2 separate regions of the Homo sapiens genome follow, and region 1 is linked to region 2. Evidence: promoter capture Hi-C in 16 types of primary human blood cells and fetal thymus (Javierre and others, 2016). All regions are on one chromosome and are shown on one strand. The core of a region is centred on a gene start or on the middle of the fragment in contact, and the rest is flanking DNA. Distances in the headings are between cores, read along the strand shown.

Region 1 (3,976 bases), core at 826-3,325, 380 kb after region 2:
GCAGGTGGAGATGAAAGTTTGTAGCTCAGGAGAGAGATCAAAACTGGCAGTAGAGATTCAGGAGTGACTCATCATCAACTGGGCACAAGAAAAGGCAAAACTGTACCGAAAGAAATTAAATCAGAGGTTGTGAGGGGCTGAGGGAAGGGGAAAGTGATTGCAAAGAAGCACAAAGGAATTTTGGGATGGGATGGAACAGTTCTCTATCTTGATGATCATCATGCTTAGACACTGAATACATTTGTCAAAAATTATAAAGTTAAAATTGGTTGATTTCTTATATATAAATTATACCTTAATTAAGCTGCTTTTTTTTTCAAAACAAAGAAGAAAGAAAATCCAATGCCTATCATAATCTAGAGATTCAGCTCCTAGGTTTATACTCAACATACAGGAGCACACATGTGCACCAAAACACATATTCACTGAAGTTCATAGCAGCCTTATTTATAATGGCCCCAACCTGGAAACAACCAAAATGTCCATCAATAGTAAAATGAATTGTGGCGGATCATACAATGTGTCATCACATATTCATCATTTTACTATTGAAAAAGCAAACTCTAGCTACATAAAGCTCCCAGATGAATCTCAGGCAGAATGTTGAGCTAAAGAAGCCATATGCAAAAGAGTACACATGATAAAGCTTCCATTTACGGGAACTTCAGATACAAGCAAAACTAATCTGCATGATGGAAATCAGACTAATGGCTACCTCTGCAGGGAGACATGACCAGGAAGGGCATGAGAGAGCTTTCTGGAGGCTGGAAATGTTAAATATGCAGATCTAGGTGGCAATAATACAGGTGTACATATACGGAAAAGTTTCATAAGCTGGACACTTCAGATCTGTAAAATTTTATTGAATGTAAGTTTTACCTCAATAAGAAAATGATCTAAGACATATCTGTAAGATTAAGTCCGTATTCATTTCAATTCCTTGAATTTAGATTTGACGGACATATAGACAAGGTGAGTTGGGGTTTCTATCTGCTCTCTATGAAAACAAGGAAATTAGTAGCATATACAATGGCCATGCTGAGCCTCCTTATGAGTGAAGAGTTGTTGGAGAATTGTCTTGACAGTTTGGAAAATTACAATCTGTGCAATCACATGTATTTCACATTGAATGTGCTAATTATAAGCATTTCTTATCTGTTCACCAGGTCAGATTTCCCAGCCACTGCCACCAGGGCCCCTGGAGTCTCAAGAAGACTTAATTGCCATCTCCCAGTGTCCTTGACTGAGGACCTGTTTAAAAGTGCTTTAGCAAATGTTTGAGCTGCAGGAGGAGTGCCGAGCTGTTCATTTTGCAGTGCTCAGAGGGTGAGGACCCCTTCTGCTGCTGTCCTGTTACCCTGGTTCACTGGTGGATGTGCAAGCTTGCTGTAGCCAGAAGCCCTCGTTACATTATGGTCTTCATGTTTAGGAAAAGCATTATTGAAAGCAGAAGATTGTGAGCCCCAGCTCCCCTAGAGCCTGGAAAGGAAGGGGAATTCAGAGTCACAGTCTCACTAAATTGAAGCTGGGGGCTAGGCCAAGCACATTTCCTGCATTATATAATGTAATCCTCTCAGTGACATGGCAGATGGCACTCCAGACCAACATGGGAGGAGGCAACAGGGATGGGACTACTGGGCATCCACGTAGAAAAACATAACATCGAATCCCTTCCTCCTCCATATATTCTGTACTTTTCAGTAAATCTCAGGTACACGGAGGATTTACAGGTGAAAGGCAAGACTTCAAAACTGTTCAAAGAAAATATAGAAGAGTATCTTTCTGACTTTGAGTTTGAGATGATTTCTTAAACACAAGAGAGAAAAAGCACTAACTACAATAAGGAAACATTAATAAACCAGACGACATTAAAATTAACTCTGTTCATCAAAAGACACCAAAAGAAAAGTGAAAGGCAGGCCATAGACCAGGAGAAAATATACGCAACATCTGTAGCTGGTAGATTACTATCCAGAATACATAAAGAACTCCTGCCAATGCATTAGAAAAAAGGACAGCCCAGCAGAAAATGAGCAAAAGCTGCAAATAGGCATTTCTCAGAAGAAGGAAGTAAAAAATAACCCAGTGAGACACAATTGTAGTAAAAACGCTAAGTTCTGGGCAAGACATGGACTTCAATGTTAATCCATTTCTGCTGTTTCTGATGAATGTGTATTTGATGCAATACAACTTGATGCTTTCCACCACAATGTGATGGAAATTTGTGACCTAGCACTTTGACTTCATTTATATACATGAGAGCAGGGGTTTGCAAACTGAGGCCTGTGGACTTTGTTTTTGCTAAATAAAGTTTTATTGGAAGTCAGCCACACTTACTTGTTAAGATATGGCTGCTCTTGTAACACACAACAGCAGAGTTGAGTAGTCGCAACAGACACCTTAAGGCTTCAAAGCCTACAATATTTACTAGCTGATATTTTGCAAACAAAGTTTGCCAACCCTGATCTAGAGACAGTTTTAAGGTATCATTTTCTTTTTACCTATAACTTTCTAGAACCCATACCATTTTAACAGGCTTTATTTTTAGAACAGTTTTAAACTCATAGGGAAATTGAGAAGACAGTAGAGAATTCCCATAGACTCTCTCACCCAGTTTTCTCTGTCATTGACCTTAGCATGGTACCCTTGTTACATATTGCTACATGATTAACTAAAGTCCATAGTTCATTCACATTTTCTTAGCTTTTATCTAAAGTCTTCTGCTCCAAGATCCCATCCATTTACTTGACATATTTCCTTAAGCTTCTCTTGGCTGTGAGAGTTTCTCAAACTTCCCCTGTTTCTGATGACCCTGACAGTTGAGCAGTACTGGTCAGGTGTTTTGTAGAATGTCTCTCTGTGGAATCTATTTGATGTGTTTCTCATGATTAGACTGGGGTTATGGACTTTGGGGAGGAAGACCACTGAGGTAAAATGCCATTTTTATCATTATATGAAAGACATGTACTAACATGATTTATCACTGTTGCTACTGACCTTGATCACCCAGCTGAGGTAGTATGTGTCAGATTTTGACACTGTAAAGTGACTCTTTCCCCTATACTCCGTGGAGGGAACAAACGCATCATGCACAGCCCAGCCCACACTTAGTGGGTAGGGATGTATCCTCTTCCTTGAGGCTGAAATATATAACATATGTTATATATAATGTTACATATTATATATGTTATATATAATGTTACATATTATATATGTTATATATAATGTTACATATTATATATGTTATATGTTATATATAATATATGTTATATGTTATATATAATATATGTTATATGTTATATATTATATATGCTATATGTTATATATTATATATGTTATATATTATATTATATATAATATATGTTATATATTATATTATATATAATATATGTTATATATTATATTATATATAATATATGTTATATATTATATTATATATAATATATGTTATATATTATATTATATATAATATATGTTATATATTATATTATATATAATATATGTTATATATTATATTATATATAATATATGTTATATATTATATTATATATAATATATGTTATATGTTATATATTATATATAATATATATGTTATATATTATATATAATATAATATATGTTATATGTTATATATAATATAATATATGTTATATGTTATATATAATATAATATATGTTATATGTTATATATAATATAATATATGTTATATGTTATATATAATATAATATATGTTATATGTTATATATAATATATGTTATATGTTATATGTTATATATAATATATGTTATATGTTATATGTTATATATAATATATGTTATATGTTATATGTTATATAATATATGTTATGTTATATATTATTTATATAATATATGTTATATATTATTTATATAATATATGTTATATATTATATATTATTTATATAATATGTTATAATATATAACATATAATATATTTTATTTATAATATATAACATATA
Region 2 (4,041 bases), core at 52-2,551:
TCAAGATCTTTGTTCCAGTCAGCGATGCTGGAGAGCAGGAGTCCAGCCTCTAGCCTTCAGGCCTCCACACCGCCCCACACCAGCTGAGGCGAGGAGCCAGATGGTCTGTGTCTTTCTTACTCCTTTCTGTGGCCCCAGGGCCTGGCAGAGTAGGTGCTCAGTGAATGAGTGAATGAATGACCTAGTTCTGAAATCATTTACTCAATTGTGAATTTGGTTTGCCTGTAGAAAGCAGCGTGGGTATAAGCATGGATCTGGAAAATAGCTGGATCTGAATCCCAGCTGTGCTACTTACTGACTGTGTGACTTTGGCCAAGTTACTTGACCCCTCTGTGCCTCAGATTTCTCATCTATGAAATAAGGATATAATAGCACCTGGCCTACAGGGATGAGATGGGGTTAAATGAATTCACAGTGGTGTACGAAGCTCTTAGAATGGTTCCTGGAACACAGCGAGCTCTTGTTAAGGGTTCATGACTGATTTCTTCCCTTCCTCTCATTTCCATCAAGCATCTTGCTTTTCTGCCTGAAGTCTGGGGTTCTTCCTTTGTCTTAGGAAATTCTGAGCCCACAGATGCAATGATGCCGGTATCTGTGGGTGGCAAAGGACGAGGGCAGTCGAGTAGCTGCTGGCAGAGAAGCAGCAACCCTGACAGTGAGTAGGGGCTGAGGTCTGTGGTTCTCAGGAGGTGCCCAGCCCTGCTTCCCAGTCCTGCCAATCCCCCATGCTCGGAGGGGATGGCCCTGTGCTAGGTGTTTAGGGGAGGGCCCAGCCTCACCAAGGTCCCTGCATTCTGAGCAGGAGCAGGAGCTGCAGGGGCTGCCAGGCTGGAATGAGGGGTGGATGAGAAGTGTCTCACCAGCACCTGGGCTGAACCCTGTTGGGTGACTAGCGTCCTGGAGTGGGCAGGACCTATGCATCAACCAGCCCCGGGGCTGGGCACTGGAGGTGGAATTAATTTGGAGAAAATAAAGACAGTGTTGCTGAAGATGTGAGCTTGGGACTAAGAATCAAGCCCCATGAGCTTGTGGACCAGGAGGGAGCATCAGGGGCCTGTTTCTGTGGGCACAGGTGCCAGCTGATGCCTGGGTCCCCACCTGGTGTGGCCTGAAGGTCCTCCACTTCCCAGGAACCCTGCTGGCAACCAAGCCCCATATGAATTTTCTAAATGAATGATTAGTGCCACCCCCAGTAAAACAAACAAAGAACAACAACAACAACAACAAACCTAAACCTGGAATGCTCACTCCTGCAGCCTTCCCCATCTCAGCTGATGGCAACTCTCTCTTTCAGGTGCTCAGACCCAAACCCCAGAGTCATCCCTGATCACCCACAAAACCCTGGGGCCATTCCAGCGGCAATTCCATGCACTCCAGCTTCACATGTGCCTTCAGGATCTCCTTGCTCCTCCACTGCTCCCACTGCCTCCAGCCTCCACTGCCTCAAATCTGGGCATATGCACGGCTTCCTCGCTGGCCCCAGCAGCTAGCTGCCTTTGACCTCCTACAGTCTGTTCTCAGCCAAAAACCAGAGAGAACCACTTAAAATGTCAGGCCGATCAACACCTAAATTCAAACCTTCACCAGCTCCCTATTTCACTCGGAGCCTAAGGCTGAAGCTCTTCCTCTCAGGCCTCGCCTGCCACCCCCTCCTTGTTCAGCTTTAGCCACATGGGCCTCCTGGCTGCTCCTCCAACGTACCAGGCACACTTCTGCCCAAGGACTATGCCCCGTGGCCTGCAACATCACCCCAGCAGGCCACCGGCCCCTCTCCCCTCCTTCCAGCTCTGCTCACATAGCACTCACTCTGCAAGTCCTCCTGGACCATCTTCAAACCTGCACCCCCACCGCCCACGCTTGCTTTCCTTTGCGCCTTAGCACTCCTGATCCTCTCAACGCCCACTATGACTCACTGCTGTATTTTGTTTAAGTCTGCCCCAACTGGGCTGTACCCATGGGGGCAGGAATTTTCATCTGCTTTGTTCACTGATACTCAAAATCTTGGGCAGGAGGATGTGGGTGCTGCCCCATTGGAACAGAATCTGCAGTTGGCACCTGGTAAGGCTGCACCCGTGGGTATCGGCTGCACCTGGTTGGTGGGGGGGGGAGGTGCTGGACAAGCATGTGCTGAGTTGCCAGAGGGAGGAAGGGCATGGGGTGGGTACCTGCTTGACTGCCAGGTTGACCAGGTCGTAGCGGTGGGCGCGGCGCAGCGGCAAGCAGAAGCTGTAGAGGGCGTGCAGGGCGGCGCAGAAGAAGCTGAGCAGCCCGATCTGCTTGCGGTGCTGTAGCCAGTGGTCCAGCCAGTCGGGGAAGCGCTGGTACTTGGTGCCGCGCCGCAGCTGCAGGGCAGCCGCCAGCACGCCGGGCAAGTACACGAGTGACAGCAGCACGTAGGCCACGCACGGCAGTGTGGTGTTGACCACGGACACGGGCAGCTTGAAGAACTTGTTCTGGCTTTCCTGCACATAGGGCTGCAGAACGTCCCGGACGAAGTTGTAGGCATAGAAGCAGACGAAGAGCCCCAGGGCCAGCAGGGTGGGCACCTTCCAGGCCGGGAGGAGGCGCAGGGGCATGGCCTCCACCTCCCAGGCTGACGCCAGGGATCCCATGTCCACGGGCATGAAGCCCATGGCGAGCGCCATCTCCGAGACAGCACGCTTGGCTTCTGGCTGGTCACCGCAGATGGGCACCTGCGGGAGAAAAGTGGGGCAGTCAGACGGCGTCACAGGCCACAGGAGTGGGCAGGGCCTCACTGAGCAGCTGAGGAAACCGAGGGCCAGAGGGGCAGGGACTTGTTCAAGTGAGCTGCCAGTCAATGGTACAGGTGGGAGCCAATGGGGTTCTAGCTCCCAGGCTAGGGGTCTTTTCTCTGCTGCCCAGGCCTCCCAGCCTCTGGCCCACCTGCCAAGCCAGGCCAACTACTCAAGGAGGGAAGCTGCAAACAGTAAGCATCTTGCCCAGCTCGTGGACATCAGCAACCACAAGCAAAATGCTCATCCAGGTAGTCCCCATGGGCCCCCGACATGGCTGTCTCCAAGGCCGTGGCCTGCCCTGGGAGCCGCTCAGCAAAAGAGTTTTGCGTATGGTGCAGAATGGGCAGCTGTGGCTGCAGCTCCATCCCTCAGTTCAGAATCACCCCCCTTGATGATGTCCCTCGGCTCAGTAGAGCCCTCAGCCAGCACATAAGGCCTTCTACAAGCCAGCTCCAGCCTGCCCTCTCCGCCTTGAAGCCCGCTGCTCTGACCCACGAGGTCCCCCTGCAGGCACATTGCAGTCCTCAGATCCCCAAGCACCCCGTGGGCCTTGTTGACACTGCATTGGTCAGTTTAGTCTCCAAACACAGACTGAACACCTACTCTATGCTGAGCTTTACATATATGATCTCTCAGCCTTGCCATGAGCCCGCAGGTAGGTACTATAGTCTTCATTTTTCAGGTGAGAAAACTGAGGTCTAGGAGCATTGTTTCTTATCTCTGTGCCTTTTCAGATTGTTCCCTCAGACTGGAATGCACTCCCTGCTCCCTGAGCCTGACAGCATGAGGTGGGCCCAGGTCAAAGCCCTCCTCCAAGTCTTTTCCAGCCAGCTTGCTTGCTCCGTTCCCTCCAGGCCCTGCATCCAACACTCTCCACTGTTCCTCCTGGTCCATACCTGGGAGTCCCATGATGCAGCCTGCATTTAAGGTGCTGTAGTCAGGTATGGCTGGGCACCTTTAAACTGTCCTACAGAGCCTGGCACCTGGGCTCGACTCACTGGTGGAAGTTCTCACACATGGAGTCTGGCATTCTTTCGCCAAGAAAATGCATTAAAAACCAAGGTGGCATTAAAAACCACCTTGTCTTGGTAAGAGCTCCTCGTGGCAAGAAACGTATGCAGCTCTAGCTGTTCCGTGGAGCCATTATCTAGCCCCAGAAAAACCTGCTGTTGACTTTTCTGAGAAATCAGTTCTTGGAAGCCCTTAGAATAAATACGATAAAATTTGAGACATGCCTGCCTTCCTCAGGGCCGGGTACATAAGTGTGTTACTTTCCTCCTTCTGA

The links. The method cuts DNA at HindIII sites, captures the fragments that hold promoters and counts their contacts. A CHiCAGO score of 5 or more calls a contact.
Region 1: a contact is called between a fragment that was not itself captured here and the fragment with the promoter of STEAP3-AS1 in region 2, in 1 of 17 cell types (monocytes). The highest score is 5.2, in monocytes.

The regions. Positions count from the first base shown.
Region 1 is chr2:118,867,390-118,871,365 of GRCh38, reverse strand. No RefSeq gene overlaps it. Among named protein-coding and RNA genes, the nearest start is that of EN1, 22 kb to the right of the region's middle. The HindIII fragment of the contact is 1,381 bases long and covers 1,385-2,765 here.
Region 2 is chr2:119,246,331-119,250,371 of GRCh38, reverse strand. STEAP3-AS1 (STEAP3 antisense RNA 1) reads left to right here and starts at 1,301. Exons shown (of 2, transcript NR_046721.1): 1 at 1,301-2,058; 2 at 3,491-4,041. It overlaps STEAP3 (STEAP3 metalloreductase), which reads right to left. Exons shown (of 6, transcript NM_182915.3): 4 at 2,166-2,693. The HindIII fragment of the contact is 11,024 bases long and covers 1-4,041 here.